5 separate regions of the Homo sapiens genome follow, and all the other regions are linked to region 5. The links are contacts of gene promoters, found by promoter capture Hi-C in blood cells and fetal thymus (Javierre and others, 2016). All regions are on one chromosome and are shown on one strand. Each heading gives the region's core, a stretch centred on a gene start or on the middle of the fragment in contact. The rest is flanking DNA. Distances are from core to core; before and after follow the strand shown. Region 1 overlaps LOC105370577 (a long non-coding RNA gene). Region 2 overlaps SPTLC2 (serine palmitoyltransferase long chain base subunit 2). Region 3 holds the start of VASH1-AS1 (VASH1 antisense RNA 1). Region 4 overlaps LRRC74A (leucine rich repeat containing 74A). Region 5 holds the start of CIPC (CLOCK interacting pacemaker).

Region 1 (2,700 bases), core at 177-2,676, 380 kb before region 5:
CAGAGGTTCCAGTGAGCCAAGATCACGCCATTGCACTCCAGCCTGGGCAACAAGAGTGAAACTCAAAAAAAAAAAAAAATTTTTTTCAGAAATTATCTCCTCCCATCCTGTCCTTCTCCCTCCGTCTTCCTCAAATGGCAGGAGGGTGAGGCTATGATTGAAAGAAAACCACTCAATTCCTTGTATCCCCCCAAACACATGTACACACATGCAGCTCTGTTCCAACCTCCTGGAAGGAAACTGGCTGTCACCAAAGGATTCCAGCCAAATACTTGGGGTTCCTCAAGGATATCTTTTGAAAACAACAACAACAAAAATGTAGATTTTTTTTTTTTTTTTTTTGAGACAGTCTCGCTCTTGTTGCCCAGGCTGGAGTGCAATGGCACGATCTTGGCTACTGCAACCTCCACTTCCCGGGTTCAAGCGATTCTCCTGCCTCAGCCTCCTGAGTAGCTGGGATTACAGGCGCCTGCCACCATGACCAGCTAATTTTTGGACTTTTAGTAGAGATGGGGTTGCACCATGTTGGCCAGGTTGGTCTCAAACTCCTGACCTCAGGTGATCCGTCCGCCTCGACCTCCCAAAGTGCTGGGATTACAGGCGTGAGCCATCGTGCCCAGCCAAATGTAGATGGTTGAACAGCTCCAGTCACAATGTAAAGTTTTAATTTTCCTCTGCAATAAAAGCAGCCTTTTTCTTAATGTTTTCTTTGATAGAGGGAAGCCCCCACCACCACTCCCGGCTTCTTTGCCCCAGCCCTCCTCTTTATCTAACCCAGCCAGATGTGTGCATTTTTTTTTTCCATTCACATGGCACAGGGTTTGAAGATGAGCTGTATCCCCCATTAGCCACTCTTTCCACCCCCGGAGAGACTCTGATTGTGGAGGATTCGTGCTGCTGACTGTAGATAAAACAATCGAGATGGGGGGCTGCTTTGGAAACGGGGGGGGGTGTGGGGATTTTTCCATCTGGAATCACAAGGCTTTTGGTGGTAGGCCCAGATGGAACCACGATCTGTCTGTGGAGACAAAGCTTCTTTTGGAACTGGTCATGGCCACAGGAATATGAGGTTTTTGACAATACGGTGGCCAAGAGATAGGAAACTGAAGTGGGTTATGAAATGCCAAGGACAGATCACTCTGACTCTGGTGAAGTAAGCCCATTAGTAAGCTGAACTCATGTAATTCATCAAGGAGCTTCCTTGAGCCGGTGAAAACAAGGATTGTAGAACTGTGAGTTCAGACCTGGACGTTAGAAAAACAACTCCCAAGTCAGCCAGTCTCCACCCTCTTAGCTTAAGTCATCTTTCGGCTGGGAGCAAACATGCTTCCTTACCACACCAGAACAATGCTAGGTCTTCAATTATTGTAAAGAATTTTACAAATGCTGAGTGTCCCTGTCGACACTATTAATGAACATCCTCTAAGCTGCACTTAAGCCAAATCCCAAGGGATAATTAGGGATACGGAACAATGATACAATGTAGATTGCCAGTTTGCTTGAAGCTCCCAACATCCAATTAGAGGGTGGTAGCGATTTCCCAGAGCACAGGAGATGAAAACCATCTGTCACAGCCTGCTTCCTAAATCCTCCCTTCCAGGAGCTCTTTCTGTCACCTAATAATGCCAAAAAGGAGCACCTTCTCGGCCCTGAAAGCCCATCTTCCGACCAGACATGAGTTAACAAGCTGCGCGCCCCAGGGCAGACCACATTTCCTCTCTGAGCCTTCATTTTCTCTTCTATAAAATGAACCTGCTGGACATGGGTTGGTGGCTTTCAAACTTTTGAAAGCAGTGGAAACTTTTGTTTTTCTCAAGAGGAAAGCTTGATGATGGAACTCAATTTGGAGTATCTTTATGTCACTGAGAGGAAGTATAATAAACACTCCACTAATCAGACTGCTGGAGGGAGACGGCTCAGCTCTTTTGTGTCTTAAATCTCCAAGCAGACTATCAGTCCCCATGGATTGGATCACTGCCTGCAAGTATTAACTGCTTAATAAATGTCACGTAGGAAAAAATGTGTGCTTCATTGGGAAACTGTGTATCCTTTAGAGCATACCCTTCCAGGTTATCTGAGTGCGATGCTTTAGGGTCTCTGGGCCATTCATTGCCTTTGAGCTATTTTTCAAATCTGTAAATTGTAGATAACTGATAGCAATGTAAATAATTCCTGTTTGCAGGCATGCAAATACATTCTGTCCCGAGGTGGTTCAATTTACTTCCTATTTTCCAAAGGAAAGCCAGTTTCCTTCTATTTGAAATATGTTTCCTTCTATTCGTAAATATATTTCCTTCTATTCGTAAATACACTTCAACATTGCTTTTCTCCATATAAATTTGTGCCTCTTTTGACTTCTCATTTGAACCGGTTGTCACATCTTACCAGCCTTCATTAATGATGCACTAAATACAATTTTAACATGTCCATTTTATGTTTGTAGGAATGTCATGATTTTAGCTTTCTTTGAAAATTGCCTTAGTTAAAAAGTTTATCAATAAAAATGAACATTTTTTTTTTCCGAGTTCTCCCCTGATGTCCAATAGCATTTATACTCACACACAGTTGACTTTAAAAGTATAATGTTATGGAAATGCCTTTAGGAAAGCAACACATGCTCATTGGGAATAAGAAATGAGAGAAAGAGCCACATGGGATACTAGGAGCTAGGCTCCCTTAGGCATAAAAGGGCAAGTCGGG
Region 2 (2,700 bases), core at 192-2,691, 450 kb after region 5:
TAATTTGGTCATTCTGGCTTAACATTCAACTATTCAAGCAATGTTACAATAAAGTACTTGAAGAACCCACTGATTTTCTGGTATTGCCAATCATGCGTGCATTCATTCAGTCATTCAATAAATTTACTGAAAGGATCCTAGATGTCACACACTAAGCTGGGTGCTATGCATGTTATTATTAACTACACCTTTGGACAGAAATAAAATACATCAAAGCACAGCTCTGGAAAATGGAAAAGCAAAATTTTAGTTGATTTGGTCAAACACTTTGCCTTGATTCGTATGTAGATACTACAGCTAAATTTCCATTAGTGGACACGGATTAGTGATGTGTAAAGTAAAAGTTAGAATTTCAAATGTCTAGTGGAATTTAACAGAATTTCCTAGGCCTCATTTTTTCTACTCCCTGGCCTGTGCTCAGTATTCCCACTCCAGGTACAGGCATCCTGGCAGCACAATTCCCATTCATTATTATCTCACCTGAGATCCTAGTGAAGTTGCCTTTCAAGATCTGTCAACCTAGTCATATGTCCTGTTCTTCCTTGGGAAAAGGATAGAAACTGGAGGGGAAATGCGGAAAAAGTTGGGAGGAAGGGGAAAGGAGCGCTCACAAAGTCGTGTGGAAACTGGATCTCACCTTCCCTTACATGCTGCAGCTTTTCTGAAGGCTCTGTACTCTCACCAAAGAGCAACATTTCTTCACACAAAAAGATGAAAACATTTAACAATAAGCAACCACATATACATGTTTAAGCCTTACTTTCAATACCAGGTACTTAATGTACTCTGGAATCCAACAATAACAAAGTTTTAATGATAAATGTAATATATTCACTGACATGGTTTGGATGTTTGTCCATCTCAGGATGGAATGTGATCCCCAATGACGGAGGTAGGGCCTGGTGGGAGGTGTGTGGATCATGGGGAGGATCCTCGTGAATGGCTTGCTGCCATCCTTGGGTAATGAGTGAGTTCTCGCTCTGAGTTCTCCCAAGATCTGGTTGTTTAAAAAAGCATGGTACTTCTCCTTGAGACTGCATCTCAAAAAAAAAAAAACCAGCCACAAATTCTTTGACATGCCTCCACTGGGGAGGTGGAATCTAGTTCCCCACCCCTTCAATCCGGGATGGCCTTAGTGACCTGCTTGTTAACAACAGGTCAGAAAAGGTCATGGGGTTTCCGCCAGGTTCTTTGGAATGCTTGCTCTCTGAAGCATCCTTTCTGGGTACACAGTCACGATGTCATGAGGAGCCTAAGCCACATTGAAAAGATACATGCATGAAGGTGCTCTGGTCAACAGCCTCAGCTGAGCCTGGCTCCAAGTCACTCCAGCCCAGGTGACATGTGAGTGGAAAAGCTTCCAGATGATCCCAACCACCAACCATCTCAGTCTTTCCAGACACTTGAGTCTTCCAGGCCAGCCCCAGACAACAGAGCAAAGACAAGTCATCCCTGCTGTGCCCTGACCGAATTCTTGACCTGTGGCATCTGTGAGCATAATCAGATGGCTGTTGTGTCACATCACTAAGCTTTGGGGGTGGCTAGAGGCAAAAACTAGAAAACTTGTGCTGATCCAAAGCCTATATATAATTACCATGTTTCATTTTCTCACTACTAGCACAGCCCAGATTTCATCATTTAGTACAGATAAGTCATTTATCTGGGGGTAATGTGTCACACAGATCCATGTTCTGGAACAGGGCAAATAAATTATCCAATGTTAACTTTGATAGCTCTTAGCCATTTCTTAGTCACCTAAACCTGTGTGCTGAATCAGTAAGGTAAGTGTGCCTATGTGAAGTACCTAGAGAAATGCTAGCTGTATGTATATATATGTGTGTATATATGTCTGTCTCTCAGATTCACACACAGTTTCCACTAACACCACATCAGAAGGAGAGGAGATATAGCTGTTATTAACAGGGAGCTATTCACAGGCTCCACTATGTGTTTGCAACATTAATAAAACAACTTCTTCAAGGAATTAATTCACAAAACTGAAAATGATCACATTTCACTATTTCCAAAAATCTCTCATTAGAGATAACAAGGATCTAGCACAGATCAGAAAAAATGTTAAGGTAAAATTCTGATTTAAGAAAACAGTCGACTGGGCGCGGTGGCTTACGCCTGTAATCCCAGCATTTTGGGAAGTCAAGGCAGGCAGGTCACCTGAGGTCGGGAGTTCGAGACCAGCCTGACCAACACGGAGAAACCCGGTCTCTACTAAACATACAAAATTAGCCGGGTGTGGTGGCGCATGCCTGTAATCCCAGCTACTCGGGAAGGCTGAGGCAGGAGAATCGCTTGAACCTGGGAGGCAGAGATTGTGGTGAGCCAAGATCATGCCATTGCACTCCAGCCTGAGCAACAAGAGCAAAACTCCATCTCAAAAGAAAGAAAAGGAAAGGAAAAGAAAAGAAAAGAAAACAGTCAGCTGGGTGTGGTGGCTCACAGCTGTAATTCCAGCACGTTGGAAGGCCAAGGCAGGCAGACTGCTTGAGCCCAGGGGTTCAAGACCAACCTGGGCAACATGGTGAAACCCCATCTCTACAAAAAATACAAAAAAAATGGCCAGGTGTGGTGGCAGACTCCTGTGGTCCCAGCTACTTGGGAGGCTGAAACAGGAGAATCATGTGAACCTGGGAAGCGGAGGTTGCTGTGAGCTGAGATCGCACCACTACACTCCAGCCCGGGAGA
Region 3 (2,700 bases), core at 78-2,577, 310 kb before region 5:
AGTTAGTAGCTACAACAGGGCAGGAACTGGAGAGAAAAACAAAACAAAAAAAGCAGCAGCCTCCTGACTGGCCATTTCCCTTCTTGGTCTCCAGTTAAAAGCTGCCTCTGAGCTCCCCCAGCCCCAGGCCCCCACCACCAGCCTCTGCCTTCCAAGATAACCTGTCTTGCCTGATCCTGGAAAGGCTTGTGAGAAACTTGGGGTGGTAAGAAATAAACCAAAGGAGATTCTCAAATTCTATCTCTGGGATTTCTGTTTCCTCAGGTGTAAAGGTAGAATCTGAACACCACCTAAACTGCCACCACACAGTGCCACTGTCTTTGCTAGCTGACGTGGAAGTACTGTGCAAACTTAACAGAAGTGCTGTGGAGATGCTAACTGACTGAGGCAACTAGGAGGAACCCTCCCTGCCAGGAAGAGGTTCTTGGGGATATACCTCAAAGCTTAGGGCTTTCAAATACTTCCTAGCCAATGGGCCCAACTGTCCAGCCTGGCTGGGGTAACGATCTACTCCCAACTCCTACCAATAATTCTCTGGAATTCTTAGCACCTTTTTCTTGCCAAAGCCCAAACAAAGCAATTTCAGATCTGAAAATTCTTCACAAGTAGAAGTGATTATTAACTTTAATTTCTATTTCACCAAGGAATGTGAACTGAAATACAGAGAGGTTAAGTAACTTACCTACAGTCACCAGCTGAACAGGCCAAGAGGACAAATGATGTTTCTAATTCCTAGCTGAGTTTTCTTTCTTTTCTTTTCTTTTCTTTTTTTTTTTTTGAGATGGAGTTTCACTCTTGTTGTCCAGGCTGGAGTGCAATGGCATGATCTCGGCTCACCACAACCTCCGCTTCCCAGGTTCAAGCAATTCTCCTGCCTCAGCCTCCAAGTAGCTGGGATTACAGGCATGCGCCATCACGCCCGGCTAATTTTGTATTTTTAGTAGAGACGGGATTTCTTCATGTTGGTCAGGCTGGTCTGGAACTCTCGACCTCAGGTGATCCACCCGCCTCAGCCTCCCAAAGTGCTGGGATTACAGGTGTGAGCCACCGCACCCGGCCGCTAAGTTTTCTTTTTACTAAATCAATTGAGGGGATCGCAACCCAGGTAGTGCAATGGAAGCAACCAAGTGGCTTTAAATCAATCAGATTCTCAGAGACTGATTCAGAGGCCTGGTGTGGGTTCTGGGAACCTGTTCAGGTAAGACAGAAAACCAGATCTGGTTTCAGGGCTCCCAGTGGGCATGTGGGCTTGGCTGGTCTTACTACATAGGGAGGTTGGAAGACAAAAGCACCAACAGAGGTAGGCCTAGGAAGGAAGAGACATTTTTCCAGCGACAGATGGCCCACTGCTCAGCCCTGGCTCCAGAATGCAAAAGAGATCAGAAATAGATGCTCAGCAAGAGGCATGTGCCACCCGCATCATGTCTCATGCAGCTGCCATAGCTTTAATCAGGAAAACACACATCTTATCCCACTTTGCACAGACCCTCCTGAAGTGCAGAAGATACTAGGAGGAGGCATGGGGGGAGCAGATGGAGGAAGAATGAAAAGCAGTCCAAAGAATCATTCTCTCACTTGGGAAGGACAGAAGAAAGCTGTACCCCAGCAGTGTCAAGGCAGGAGGCTTCACTCAAGCCCTGTTCCTCCCAGGCCTCACAGCAGTGGGAATTTACCTCAGCTAATAGAGGGAGATCTTACAACACATTTCTCAATCTAGATTCATGTCTTGAGACCCCACCCCAAGATCAAAAGCTCCTTAGTCTCTTCCTCTGCCCACCTCATTCTTCAGGCCCTCTCTCAAGGACCTAATCCCTTCAGGATCCTAATAAAATGAACAACATTGGGGGGAAAAAAGGTAAACCTTTATTTGGAAAAAGAGTTTAAATAACAATTTAAAACCCCATTTCACTTTCAAAACAGAAACAAGAAAGCAAGGAAAAGATAATCTATCAAGCATCTGCCCTCTGCTGTGGTTAGCCATTTTAAAGCTGCATTTCCCAGCAGAAGAGAACAGTGATGGGCCCTAGTCCTAGGAACCCACAGGGCACTGTCTTGAGACCCTTTTAGGCAGTGTCCAGGGAACAGACAGACAGAATGAATGGTGGGGTGTAGACAGACCTGGGGCTCAGACAGGCACATGCCCAGTACCCAGGAAACAAAGTTTGAAAATATATACACATAGAAAAATAAATTCCCTAGAACCTAGGCATGGAAAGCTTCTAACCATGAATGCAGCAGCACAATGCAAACTGGGTCTTTGGCTTTCAAAAAAAGGAAAGAACCTTAACCCCTGGCTTACTGTCCCGAACTCAAGTCTCTTGACCACTGTCTTCAGTCCCACTTTGGAGGTCGAGTGAGGCAAGAGCAAGTCAAATCTACCAGGGCCAGCAGCCACTCTGACTTAGGGAGATGTGTGGAGGGGCTGGCCCAGGATCTCCCAAGGCCACACCCCAGCAATGAAAGATTAAGGCATGCAGGTGACACAGTGTGGACTAAGGAGTCCCCTGAATAAGCCAGGGTACCCTTCTGTTAGGGGAGGGAAAGCAGACGCAACAAGCAGCTGAGGCCTTGCTGGACAGAGCCAATCCGCAAGTACTGCCACTTCAAATTCTTGGACCAGTTTTGTCCAAGGCCACCTTTCTGCTGAGGCAGTTTGGCCTGAGCTAAATACCAGGGTTTTCTAGAAAGGAAATGGAAGGG
Region 4 (2,700 bases), core at 12-2,511, 270 kb before region 5:
CAGGCAGCTTGTTGCTCTTTTTCTGGCTTCTTGTCCACTTCAAGTCTGTTGTTAACGTTGCTTCTAACACCCAACTTCATTCACATGGTTGGAGAAGGTAGCAAAGGACAACACTGGATGTTTGGCCAAAGGGTCCTGTTTCTATCTCATTCCCCCATCTCTTCCCCTGACTGCAGCAAGTGCTAACACTGTCGCAAGCTGCCCATAAAATATAACAATAGGGAACACAGCTAGAAAGGGTCAGCATCAAACCCAGCAGAATTAGTCCCAGGGACAAAACCTGGGGGTTACCTTCCCTGCTTTTGCCAACAGGAACCTCTAATGGCTGAATGTGGCACCAAAAACTCTGTCCTGAATGGTAACTCGGGGCTCAGCAGCCCTGGCTCCTGGTGCTCCTGCTGTGGGTGCTGAGACACTGGGAATGGGCAGGGAGGGCATGGGAAATGGGCCAGCTGGGAGCAGTGCTGGCTGTGAGTCTAGAGAAAAGGGGGAGACGAGCCTGGTTTGCTCACTTGCCATGAGCTGTTTTTCTCCACAACAGTGGTTCTCACCTGGAAGCAATTTTGCACCAAGGGGACATTGGGCAAACTAGGGGAGGGGGGTTGCTACTGGCATCTTGTGGGTCCACGCCAGAGATCCTACTAAACACCCTACTATGTATAGGACAGCCCTCAGAACAGAATTATCCAGCCCAAAATACCTGCAGTGCTGAGGCTGAGAAGCGCTGCTGTACAAGCGTCCCAAAGAGAAGTCTAATTTGTAGTTGTGCTTGCAAAATCAGCTTCCCTGTAAAGCACTTGTCCTTTCACCAACAAAGCTCCCATTGTCAGCCTTAGATTGTTTGGAGGGGGAGGGGGTTGGCCAAAGGCCCTGGGATCTGAAGGAAAAACAGATGCAGACATAGACGCCAGCTGGCCTCAGGAAGCCCTGCCATAGGCTGGACTTGCCTAATGAGGACACAGCTGTGGGGCACCCAGAATCCAGGGAGGCCCGATGCCCAGTGACCATGGGCCAGGCTGGCCTAAAGCCTAAGAAATAAAGGCCCCCAGGGGTTAGAATGGAAAGGTGCAGTCCCCACTTCTGTTAGCTGGTTTTAGCATTGACCAACTGTGTGTTATTTGAGGCTAGGTTTGTCGTCAATAAAGCAAGGATGACAGTCCTTTTTATAAGGAAAATGACATGCAAGCTTTTGAAAGAAGAAAGACCATTCACATGCAAGCATGCTTGTTTCTCGCTGATGTGGAGGTCTTTCCATATTCACTGGTTTGCCATTTTGAGAAGTCCACTCTGTCCTAGTTGGGCTTTTTAAATGTTGGTGCCTCTCTAAGTCTTTGGTGAAGCTTTTTTCATGACTCACAACCTTGTGATAGTGGCGGTGAAACTAAAAGTGAAATGAAGATTCCATCAACCATCAAAAGTCATCCGCGTTTGGCCTTTCAGAATTGTCCAAAGGTGGGCAAGAGGGCTTGGGCCTTCTATGTCCTTGATGACCAGTCACTGGATGTGGCCAACCTGGGCAGGTGGGGTGAAGCCCACTGCTCACTTCTAGGAAAGCTTCTGGCCTAAAACCATGGGCCTCATCTCCTACCCAAAGGGAAACATTCATCTGGGACTTTCTGGAGTTAGAGTCTCCCTCTCCCACCATGGACTGACTTCCCAGACAGGAGCAGGCTTCTTAGCACATACCCACAGGGAGAGATCCTCTGGCAGAGGACAGTCTAGACATGAGTGAATGTCACTGGGGCTAGAGGGGAGAGAAGGCAAAGGTGGAAGAGAAATCCTACTTCAGCCCATCTTTCTCTGCAGATGATGAGAAATTTTTCACCACTGGACAAAAGGAGCTGTACCTGGAGGCCTGCAAGCTGATGGGTGTAGTGCCTGTCTCCTACTTCATTCGGAACATGGAGGAGTCCTACGTGAACCTCAACCACCACGGCCTGGGCCCCAGGGGTACCAAGGCTATTGCTATAGCCCTGGTGGTGAGCATGCTAGTGGGAGCTCATGAAACCTGGAGGAGGTGGAGGGTTGGCAGAGTGGTAGGCCCAAGATTCAGAGGGCCCCTCCTATGGAGCCTAAACCCACACTTTATGCCCTTATGCCACACTGCCCTGGGCTCTGCTTGGCTGCCAGATGATTTATTTAGCTCCTGGTAGGAGGCTACTAGCAACCTGGGCCTTGGAAGTCTATGCTCCTTGCAGAGACTTTGAGGAGAAAAAAATAGAAGTCTATATACTCTTTGCTGTTCAGGAAGCAAAGGCACCAGCCCCTGGGCCCAGGAAAAGTGACCAGGCCCAATTATCAATGTAAGAGCACCAACAAAATGCCAGCCTGGGTCTTCATTCCAAAGCTCACTTTTGCTGTAAATGGGTTTACTACTGACCCATTCCATTCAATGTCTGCCTTGTGCAACATTATATTTCATAAAGACCACGGTGTAGAGTAAATCAAGTTTTCCCACAGAAATAGTGTTATCTCTCAGCTTGGTATGACCAAACAAGGACTTGACCTTGAGTTCATCATGACTTTATATAATTATAACTGATTTACACACAAAACTGACTCCCATCACAGAAAAACAGAAAACCTAACAACTGCCTGTCAGCATAGCACTGTTTGTCCACTTAGAAAAGTAAACAGAAAATTCCATTATAAAAAAGCTCAGTAAGGTAGAGAGGTAGATGTGTCTTTAGAGGTGACATT
Region 5 (2,700 bases), core at 106-2,605:
GGAAAAAAATACCACCTGCGTCATAAACTTGTAAGGAATCATAAAAGGATGCATATAAAGCGGCCCGGCTCCTAATTACTTGGTAATTGTTAACTATTGCTTTCACTCTGTCCCCAAAACAAAAGCCTTACATGGTGTAGGCATATTACTTGTTGGTAAAGCTGACTACTAACAAGTACACCCATACCCAGTAATACATTAGAATTACCTGTGTCTAGAGGACTAACGTGATTAACCACGACCTAGCAGCACTTACAAAGGCCTGGATGACCAGTATAAAACAATTCCCCACTATCTAAATCAGCACTGTCCAATATAACTTTCTGCGATGCTGGGAATGGGCTATATATAATCTGCACTGTCCAATAAAGAGGTCACTGAGCTCCTGAAATGTGGCTAGTACAACTGAGAAACTTATCCAGTCGTTAGTGACCATCTTACTGGACAGCTCAGCTCTTGAATCTGCCTCGACCCGTCAACTCTTTAAACTCGCCCATGTCCTCTTTTTCACTAGCGAAATAATTCTTTTTCTAAGTAACCTTCACTGATTCAAGGCATCAGAACGTCAACTGATCCCAAGCCCTTTTTTTCTTTAGCTGTTACACACGTGTGTTCACCGTGAACCTTCACCAAGAAACAGCATCCATATAAAACCCATAGCACATGACAAAGTCAGTCAAACATCAAAGGTCATGAAATCATCTACTTAAAATAACTCATCGCGCCTCGACCTCGTGAAGCACGGTCTCGAGGGTGGACGGGAACAAAAAACAAACAGGGCGACAGGCGTAGAGAAAATGCGAGGAGCACGCGGGGAGGTCTGGCACCCCTGTCACGGCGACTCCAGGCTGAGGCCGCCCGCACGCCCGCTCTCCCACGCCGGGCACTGTCGCTCCCGGCACGCGCACAGGCCGGACACGACTCGCCCCGGCCCCCACCCCCAACGGCGGCACGGCGGCACGGCGGCACGCACCAAGACAGTGCGAGAGTCGCTCCTCTCTCTGTATCGACTCCAAGCCGGCCCCACCCCCGGCTCCTCTGAACCCCGCCTGGAAACCTTGCCCAAGCCGCTCATTGCTCAAGGCCCCCGTACAAAATGGCGGCGAGGCCTGAGGAACCAACCATAGAGACGCCCGCCGGCCGCGGACAGAGCGTAGGCCTCTGAGCGCTGGCCCCGCCCCGCGCCGGCCTGGTCTTCCGGCGGGGGCGGGGAAAGGGCGCATTTCCAAGGGCCCTTCTAGGAGAACAGCGTGCGGTCTCCATGGTGCCGGGTCATCCGAGTCGGGTCACGTGGCTGGCGAAAGCCGTCGCGGAGGCGTGGGGAGGAGAAATGGGCGGGAGGCTGTGGGGATAGCGAGACACCCAGCGACGACGAGGTTGTCATGGTGCCGCGGGGCCGTGCTCGCGCATGCGCCACCTGACCCACAGGCCGGTCGTGGAGCTGCGACCCCGGCCCTAGGTGAGAAAGGGAGGGCTCGGTCCGGGAGGAGGGGAGCAGGGATGACGGCGGGAGAGGGATTGGGCGAGGAGCGTGGGGAAAGGAGGTGGAAGTAGGGGAGAGAGGAAGAGGAGCGAGTAGGCAAGAGGGGCAAACCGGGACTTTCGGAGGACGGAGAGCCAAATGGTGGGAGCAGGGCTTTGGTTTGCTGTGAGGGGCGTGGGAGAGGGAATCGCGGGTGAGGAGGGGGCTGCGTGTGGGGAGGAGGCTTGTGTGAGGGGCAGGTGGGCCCTGGTCTAGCCCTGGGCGCAACCGCCAGCCGGCTGGGCGGGGAGAGAGCTTGGAGTCCAGCCCGGCTGGGAGCTGAGGGCCAAGCAATGGGCAGGTGAGTGGGCGCCAGAACTAGTAACTGGGCGAGGGTCCTGGGCTTCCGGTTTGAGGTCGGGGGTGGTACCCTGTTCTGGCTCCAGGGCACAGGTGTGCTGCCTTTTCCAGAGACCTGCCGTCACCCTCGTTGCTGGTTGTTTCCCCTGAGTGGCCAGCTTGCCAGGCTTGGTGTCGGGGGTAGTGTTTCTGGGGAGAAGGTGGGCAGTGCCAAGTAAGGAGTTAAGTGGTTAGTGGGTGGGTTCGGGGGAGCTCTGATCCCGGCCCAGGTCACAGGCTGGAGCTAGGCTCCCTGTTATTGCTCAAGTCCTGGCAGTATGCATTGCCTGGGCGTTTGCCCTGGAAGGCTGGTGGTATGCCAGTCACAGCACAGTACTAGGGTCTGCCCAGTTTTGCCCTGCTGAGCTGGCAGGCTGGTGGATGCCTGGAGGGTGCACATGCTGCCTGGCACAGATGCAACGTGGGCTGGTGCGAATGGGTAGGTGGGCACTGTTACTGTGAACTAATTGCAGCAGGGGATCGGAGAAAGTTCTCTAAGCTCATCTCCCCTTTGAAAGGTGAAAATAGAGCCAAACTGGTCTAAAACATAGGAAATTGTATGGAATTGGGGTTCAGGATCTTTGACACGAATTTTCAGCCAAGTTGGAGAAATGGAATGAATGTGGAAGGGAAGATGAATATTAGACATTTAGGTAGACAGGGTTTTTCCACTGTTAAGATACCCAGACATTCTCCCAGAATGGTATCCCTGAATATGCAGGCCAAAAGAAAATGACTTCGGAGAAAAGCTAGTAATGTATTTATAATTCTAACGGGGATTACTCAAGGTTTTCTTTCTGTGACCTTATCACTTTATTGTATTTAAGCCTCTGGTTGGG

The links. The method cuts DNA at HindIII sites, captures the fragments that hold promoters and counts their contacts. A CHiCAGO score of 5 or more calls a contact.
Region 1: a contact is called between a fragment that was not itself captured here and the fragment with the promoter of CIPC in region 5, in 10 of 17 cell types (naive CD4 T cells, naive CD8 T cells, fetal thymus and 7 more). The highest score is 9.1, in naive CD4 T cells.
Region 2: a contact is called between a fragment that was not itself captured here and the fragment with the promoter of CIPC in region 5, in 2 of 17 cell types (naive B cells and total B cells). The highest score is 7.8, in naive B cells.
Region 3: a contact is called between a fragment that was not itself captured here and the fragment with the promoter of CIPC in region 5, in 3 of 17 cell types (naive CD8 T cells, total CD8 T cells and naive CD4 T cells). The highest score is 6.5, in naive CD8 T cells.
Region 4: a contact is called between a fragment that was not itself captured here and the fragment with the promoter of CIPC in region 5, in 11 of 17 cell types (activated CD4 T cells, total CD8 T cells, non-activated CD4 T cells and 8 more). The highest score is 10.1, in activated CD4 T cells.

What each region holds. Positions count from the first base shown.
Region 1 is chr14:76,714,426-76,717,125 of GRCh38, forward strand. All of the region lies in intron 1 of LOC105370577 (a long non-coding RNA gene), which reads right to left. Among named protein-coding and RNA genes, the nearest start is that of VASH1, 46 kb to the right of the region's middle. The HindIII fragment of the contact is 792 bases long and covers 1,031-1,822 here.
Region 2 is chr14:77,548,185-77,550,884 of GRCh38, forward strand. All of the region lies in intron 9 of SPTLC2 (serine palmitoyltransferase long chain base subunit 2), which reads right to left. Among named protein-coding and RNA genes, the nearest start is that of ISM2, 51 kb to the left of the region's middle. The HindIII fragment of the contact is 172 bases long and covers 1,356-1,527 here.
Region 3 is chr14:76,785,403-76,788,102 of GRCh38, forward strand. ANGEL1 (angel homolog 1) reads right to left here. Exons shown (of 10, transcript NM_015305.4): 10 at 607-2,700. VASH1-AS1 (VASH1 antisense RNA 1) reads right to left here and starts at 1,322. Exons shown (of 2, transcript NR_104184.1): 1 at 683-1,322. The HindIII fragment of the contact is 1,773 bases long and covers 442-2,214 here.
Region 4 is chr14:76,829,397-76,832,096 of GRCh38, forward strand. LRRC74A (leucine rich repeat containing 74A) reads left to right here. Exons shown (of 14, transcript NM_001385106.1): 3 at 1,807-1,979. Among named protein-coding and RNA genes, the nearest start is that of LRRC74A, 4.3 kb to the left of the region's middle. The HindIII fragment of the contact is 154 bases long and covers 1,185-1,338 here.
Region 5 is chr14:77,096,903-77,099,602 of GRCh38, forward strand. CIPC (CLOCK interacting pacemaker) reads left to right here and starts at 1,356. Exons shown (of 4, transcript NM_033426.3): 1 at 1,356-1,459. It overlaps LOC124903350 (a long non-coding RNA gene), which reads right to left and starts at 1,116. Exons shown (of 2, transcript XR_007064275.1): 1 at 974-1,116. RefSeq lists enhancers at 587-636, 998-1,827, 1,967-2,126 and a silencer at 817-966. The HindIII fragment of the contact is 10,027 bases long and covers 1-2,700 here.